Linked DNA regions of Homo sapiens: region 1 is linked to region 2. The links are contacts of gene promoters, found by promoter capture Hi-C in blood cells and fetal thymus (Javierre and others, 2016). All regions are on one chromosome and are shown on one strand. Each heading gives the region's core, a stretch centred on a gene start or on the middle of the fragment in contact. The rest is flanking DNA. Distances are from core to core; before and after follow the strand shown.

Region 1 (3,047 bases), core at 135-2,634, 290 kb after region 2:
CCTTCCTTCTCTTCATTCCTGTGTGCAAAAGGCACTGTTTTCCAGCTCAGAGGAGCGAAGGAAAGTGTGTGTGTCTGTGTGGAGGAAGCCGGCTTGACGTTGGTCTTGACCTGTCTAAGTCTATCCTAGGCTTCAGCCAAAGAAAAGCCCTGGCTGTGGCTATTCTTTCTCTTCTCCACCTCACCATCCTCTCCCCCACCAGTACTTCAGGTTTCCTGGCTCTCATCAAATTTGTACTGACTTTCCACTCCATGGACTTAGGTATTCAGGACCTGGCCAATTTTGGTTCAGAAAATTTTCTGGATATATATAGCTGGAGAGAGAGAATAAGAATACATGTATAATGTATAAAGGCAGGTGATACTACCAGATAAAATTATCTTCTTGAGTGATTCAGTCCCTTTGTATCATGCCACAAAGATTATGTTCACTCCATGAGTGTGTCATAAAGCTTTGAGATATCAAGAGTGAAAACATAACCAACCTGCCTGCCTGCCTGCCTGCCTGCCTGCCTTCCTTCCCACAAAACATTCTGTATTGTGCAAGCTTCTCTGTAATACCAGGCAGGCAGACCTCAAAGTTTTTGCGAGGCATTTTATGACTTTTATCCTTCTCCCTCATCCACTCAGTGCAATAACTATCACACACAGGAACTATAGCATGAACAAGACAGGCAGTCTCTCTTCTCAGGGAACCAACAGCCTAGAGGCCTGCAAGCCAGAGCAAGTATGCAGATCTATAAACCAGGCACTTTAGAGTAAGTGGCATGAGAAAATACGACAATGTGAGGAAGAAGGAAGAGGTAAGTAACTGTAGGTTTGGAGGGCAGGTGAATGAATATTTGAGCAGAGACCTGAAGGAGTAGGAGCCAGGCCTGCTCAAAATACATTTGTCTTTCGAGGAGCTGCATGGGGCCCCGGCTGCCCTGGGCCACCTATTTAGCCCGGGTTTAATTCCACATGAGCCTTCATCTCAGAACGGGCGTAAGAGGCAGAGGTCAAGCAGCTGCTGAAAGTGGAGTAACCCAATCTTGGGCACAAGTTGGCCTTTAATAAGCATCCAGGTAGCCCTTTGAAAAACGAAACCTGTGGTCAGGTCTCTGAGAGCAGAAGGATCGGGTTTCAGTTTTAATTACAAAACCAAAGAGCTGTCCCATTTTGCTCCATTTCGGCTTCCCCCAGAAGAGGTTTTCCTGTCTCCCATCCTGGGGGCCCTGACGTGCTTACCTGACACAGAGATGGGCTGCTCTAGGTGCAGCACACGGAGCTTGAGTTGGCCAGGCTTGCGAAATGGTAGGATGGAAGCAGAGGCCCCAGATGGGATGTGAGAGCGGGTGATGAAAAGCATGTGGGAGGTGAGGACTGGGTTTGGGGGTTGTTGGAGTTCACATTTGTGGGCTATGGCTCAGATTATGACATCACAGAAGGATGGGACAACTTTGAAGCCCAGGAGAATGTGCGTGTCTTTTCTTCTCCCTTGTCCCCTGCACCTGGCAGAACCTCTGCTCAATGGAAGATAAAGCGATAAGATGGGGATGTGGCCAGTGCTAGTAAAAGACCCCTTTTAATCGCTCACATTTTTGGCACTTGCTATGTGCTAGACACTGGATTAAGCAGCTAACCTGCATTATTTTGCTTAACTCGGTCAGTGTTTCATACAGCAGATAGTAGCGCTATTCTCATTTGATAGACGCAGAAAGTGAGCCTCAGAGAGGTTAGATAAGTGGCCCAGGCTCCTCCGTGAGTAGGTAATGGCCGGGGTTCATCCCAGGTCTGACTGAAGAGTCCATATTCTTTACATCTTTGCCTCACTGCCTCTTCATGTAAGCTCTGGACCTGCCATCATAAGACAAATGGGAAGAGGTGTCCTACCTTCCTAAAGGCATTTTCCAAAGTGATTTCTGAAGATATCTGATATGGGCAACTTTCCAGAATTAGTTCAGTTGTTAAAGGTTTCACGGATGAATAAATGGTGTGGGGGATGGGGGTTGAGAAGAGGTCAGAAGGAGAGACAGCGTGGAGAATGATTTCCAAGGCTGGATCTTTTCTTTATTTGATTCTAGTAAATTTTAACGAGGCCCTTAATAAAATCCCAGTGCTTAGCAGAGCCTCCACATTTACAAGTTGCCAGACCTGGGGCGGAAGAAGGGAAGTTGGAATCCTGGCGCTCAGCTTAGTCCTGCTGACCTTTCACAGTTCAGGCGAGCCAGGCTTGTAAGATTGAGCACTGCACTCTGAGCAGAGCACTCCTGCCCAGATCAAGTGGCCAGAATCCTCACCCCAACACAAGGCTGGTCCCATCTCCTTCGAGGTGGCATCCTTCAACGGGCACACCTGAAGTGGATGGCTGCCAGTTGGTGAGACACTGGAAGGAAATACACACAGTTATCACAGGTCAGCAGAGCTTCATGCCATTTTGCTTCAGGATTATTACAAAATAAAGTCTTCTAGGCAATCATCAAAATCCTCATCTCCCAATCTATAAGATGCCCTTTCCTGTACCCCCGAAAAATGGCTTTCATCAACAATGAAGAGTTATCATTTGTATTTGCTATTTAGTAGATAATAAATAATGTTTATAACATATCAAGTTATAAAGAATAAAAAATGACAATAAAAGTGGTTCCTACCTTCTAACACCTAGTTAAACCAAAAAAAAAAAAAAGCAAGAAAGAATATTACTCTGTTTTTGAAGTCCCCTATGTTGAATGAATAAATGATATTTTTATCAAAGTGGGCAGTGCTATACAGGGGGCTTCCCCAGAATCATACTCTTTATTTCCTACAAGATTCATACTTAACAACAACAAAAGTACCAGCTTTTGTAATAGCAAAAACAGCTGCAGCACATTTGCTGACAATAACATCGGGTTACTTTTCAAGTGTGGTTGAGTGTTTTCCCTTCCCTTTGACCTGATGTCCATAAGTAAAGATTTTAGGATGTGTAAAACCCTGAGCTCTGACAGAGCAGGCCCCTCCTCTCCCCCAGCAAATGACTGTCTTGAGTGTGCTGGGCAGTGCATTCCTCAGCCTTCCTCCTCGGGGGTC
Region 2 (3,409 bases), core at 242-2,741:
GTGTTTATGAATGATGAAGGGACTCGAGTGTGTGTGTTTGAGTGAGTGTGCGTATGTGTGTGTTTGTGTGTACGCGCGCGCAAGTGGGTGCCCAAAGCTAAGACTTTGAAAATCTGCTAAGTATAATACAATAAAATCTACAACTCTACTATATATTCACAGGATGTGGTCAAGTAGTTGAAAGTTTCCTTGAAGGAAAATGAGGTAGAAGAAATCAGAATAGTATTCTTATGAAAGAAAAGAGAAGCGCTCTCAGGAGTATAGTTGTCACTATGTGAGTGTGTGTGCGAGCATGCATGTACACGTGTGTGTGATTGCCGGTGTATAAATGGGTGTGTGTGAGCCTGAGTATGTGAGAGTGTGTGCGTGGCTGTGAATACGTAGGCACCAGTGTGTGTGTATATATATGCAGGGCTCATTCAGGCCTTCTCAGTGTGAGGGGACCTCAAGGAAATCTGGGCAATACTTCCTCCAGTTCCTGCCCTTTCCTTTCAAACAAACAAACAAAATCATTCCTACAAGTATTTATGGAGCCTCTAACGCACACGCCCCTCCCCACTGGCATCTGGAAAAGCTCAGACCTAGCCAATTTAAAGCGGGCGCTGGAAGAAAGAAGGCGCTGGGGACAGAAGGGATGCCTCGTCTGCGAATGACTTTTGCAAAAACACGTTCTCTTCTGTGATGCTCCAAACAACCCAGGGAGGTGAGGCCAGGTAGGACTGTGGCCCCGGATTTGAGAAAACGAAGGCTCAGAGATGACACGATTGGCCCAGAGTCACCCAGTCAGGAAGCAGAAACCCGAGGATGGAACAAGGCATTGTCAATCCAGGGGTCCAAGTCGCTGCCATCACTACTTTTACCAGTCCACCAAGCGCTGGGTCTGGGCAAAGCAGGGCAAGTTTCCGGGTAAGGTTTGCCAGCAGTGACCTCAACAACATGGACCACGGTGTGTGTGTGTGTGTAGCTGTGGAGTACATTGGTGTCAACCAAGGCTCTTCAGGCAAAATTGTGGATCTCTGCCATGAGTACTAGGTGCGGTAGGGAAGCGGCTTCGTGGGCGACACTGCCATGGTTTGGCGTCCCTAGCAGCTGTGCGACCTCCAGCAAGTCGCTTCACTTCTCTGAGCTGTTTTCAGACGACCCCTTGGAAGATCGTGGACTTAAGTAAAGAATATGAGTAGAGTGCTCAGCTCAGTGCAAAAATTAAAAAAAAAAAAGTGTCAGGAGCCTTATCCGTCCTTGGATCTTAACAGTGAATGAGTTTCAGTGTTTCTTTCCAGGGGCCCTGCTGGCCGAGCCCCTTTCCTTCCCTGGTTCCTTCTCTCTCCCTCCTCTACTGCCTCCTCCCTCCAGGCTCTCGGTCGCTCCAGCAAAGTTCCCAACTTAGTCGACATGACGCGCGGCGCAGCCAATGGGAGGCGGAGTTGGCGTTTCTTGGTCGGGGGGGGGCCGGAGGGGTGGGCCCCGCGTCTCCGGTGTCTGCCGTGCTCACTGAATGGAGAGAGCGAGCGCCGGCCAGCTCACCCGGCCGCCCCGTGCCCCAGCCGCAGCCGCCGCGCTCCCCAGCCCAGCCCCAAGCCGGACCTCCCCGGGCGCCACGCCCCATTGCGCTCGCCCCAGGTCCCCAACCCGGCCCGCGGGCCAGCGGGGCCAGGGGGCGCTCCGCACCTGGGCACTCCCAGCGATGCGCAGCGGGGCAGCGCCGGCCCCGCCGATGGAGCTGCTGTTGCTGCCGCCGCCGCCGCCCGGAGCGCCCCGCTCCGCCCGCGCCCCGTGCGCCTGAGCACCGAGCTCGCCCCTCCTCCGCGCTAACTCCGCCGCCCGCTCCCCAGGCCGCCCGCGCTCCCCGCGCGCCTCCTCGGGCTCCACGCGTCTTGCCCCGCAGAGGCAGCCTCCTCCAGGAGCGGGGCCCTGCACACCATGGCCCCCGGGTGGGCAGGGGTCGGCGCCGCCGTGCGCGCCCGCCTGGCGCTGGCCTTGGCGCTGGCGAGCGTCCTGAGTGGGCCTCCAGCCGTCGCCTGCCCCACCAAGTGTACCTGCTCCGCTGCCAGCGTGGACTGCCACGGGCTGGGCCTCCGCGCGGTTCCTCGGGGCATCCCCCGCAACGCTGAGCGCCTGTGAGTACCCCTGCCCCACCCCACGCGGGCCACCCACCTGGGTCCCACCGAGGGGGCCCCAGGCGCCAGATCCGTCCTTTCCCCTCGGCCTCCCTGGATGCAGTCTCTATTCTCATCCCTTCCTGGATACGATCCCTCACTCTCCGAGCTGGGGGTCTGTAGGCTTGGTCAGATCTGGAAAGAGAGGTCTCGAAACCCCCAGCGATGGGCAAAGAGCAGTGCCTCTCCAGGGGTGAGGGTTCCAGACGCAGGGCCCGCTGACAGCTTCCAAGGAGTAGCTGAGGAGAGGCGAGGGGAGGCAAGAGCACTGCAGCCTCAAGGTCTTAGGGTGAGGGTCAGGGGTCTGCGCTCGTTAAAAAGGGGGGCGGGCGAAGGAGAAAGCTATAGGATGATGGGCCGTCAAGGCGCGGAGGCGGGAGAGAGGGCCCGAGACTGTTGACCTGCTTGGAGATCAGAATGGGCCAGCCGCTCTCTGGCTGCCCTTGCAAGGAAAGTTGAGAGTGTGGGTGAAGGTTTAACTTCTGAGGAACTGGACAGATTCAGAGTGGGTGCTCGCAAAACCCGCTCTGCCTGGAGCGCAGTCTGGGAGATGCCAAGTTGCAGCCCCGGGTGAATTTTTTATGGCTCGGTTATAAATGCCTCCCCGAACGAAGGGGCCGGAGAATGGAAATGCTGACAGCCCTTCAAATGAGACCGAGCGTTATAATCTTACAAACCGCACTCAGCCTCAGATCCTGGGCTTGGCAGCGAATGGAGAGGCGCTTGGAGAATGGGGTGGATTGACCCTAGTTTTAGCCCCAATTGTGCAACCAAATATTTACTTTTCATATGTCAACGTTTTGGAAACATTTATCATTTTGATCCTCGGACCAGATTCAAAACTTGGACTCCGGGGTGGGCTCCTCTTAGTCCGCAGTTGGGGTGGGGTAAGGGAGTGGGGGAGAAACGCTGGAGTGGGTGGGAAGCCTTACTGGGAACCCAGCCGAGAAGTGGGTGAGGGTTTGCTCTAGTGTGGTAGATTCCCTCCGTGTCTTGCTCTCCCTCTTCTCCCCTTCCTCATGTGCCTTAGGGGTAGGCGCCTGGATCTTCCACTCTGCTTTCTTGACTTCAGGCTGGAAGAGAGTAGTGATGACAAGCATTGTCCTAGAGTGTGTTATTCCTGCTAGTCACCTCCTATCACCCCACCTCCTCTTCTCTTCCACTTCTTTGTGCATCTCTGGGTGGAGACTCAGCAGAACTGTCTTCCTTATTCCTGGTGCTCTCTTTTTCCTTTGGCTCAGTACTTTTTTGTT

What was found. The method cuts DNA at HindIII sites, captures the fragments that hold promoters and counts their contacts. A CHiCAGO score of 5 or more calls a contact.
Region 1: a contact is called between the fragment with the promoter of SLIT3-AS1 here and the fragment with the promoter of SLIT3 in region 2, in 1 of 17 cell types (megakaryocytes). The highest score is 7.5, in megakaryocytes.

Annotation. Positions count from the first base shown.
Region 1 is chr5:169,011,564-169,014,610 of GRCh38, reverse strand. It overlaps SLIT3-AS1 (SLIT3 antisense RNA 1), which reads right to left and starts at 1,384. Exons shown (of 5, transcript NR_109897.1): 1 at 1,227-1,384. All of the region lies in intron 4 of SLIT3 (slit guidance ligand 3), which reads left to right. The HindIII fragment of the contact is 2,662 bases long and covers 549-3,047 here.
Region 2 is chr5:169,299,221-169,302,629 of GRCh38, reverse strand. It overlaps SLIT3 (slit guidance ligand 3), which reads left to right and starts at 1,491. Exons shown (of 36, transcript NM_003062.4): 1 at 1,491-2,117. The coding sequence starts at 1,921. The HindIII fragment of the contact is 7,800 bases long and covers 1-3,409 here.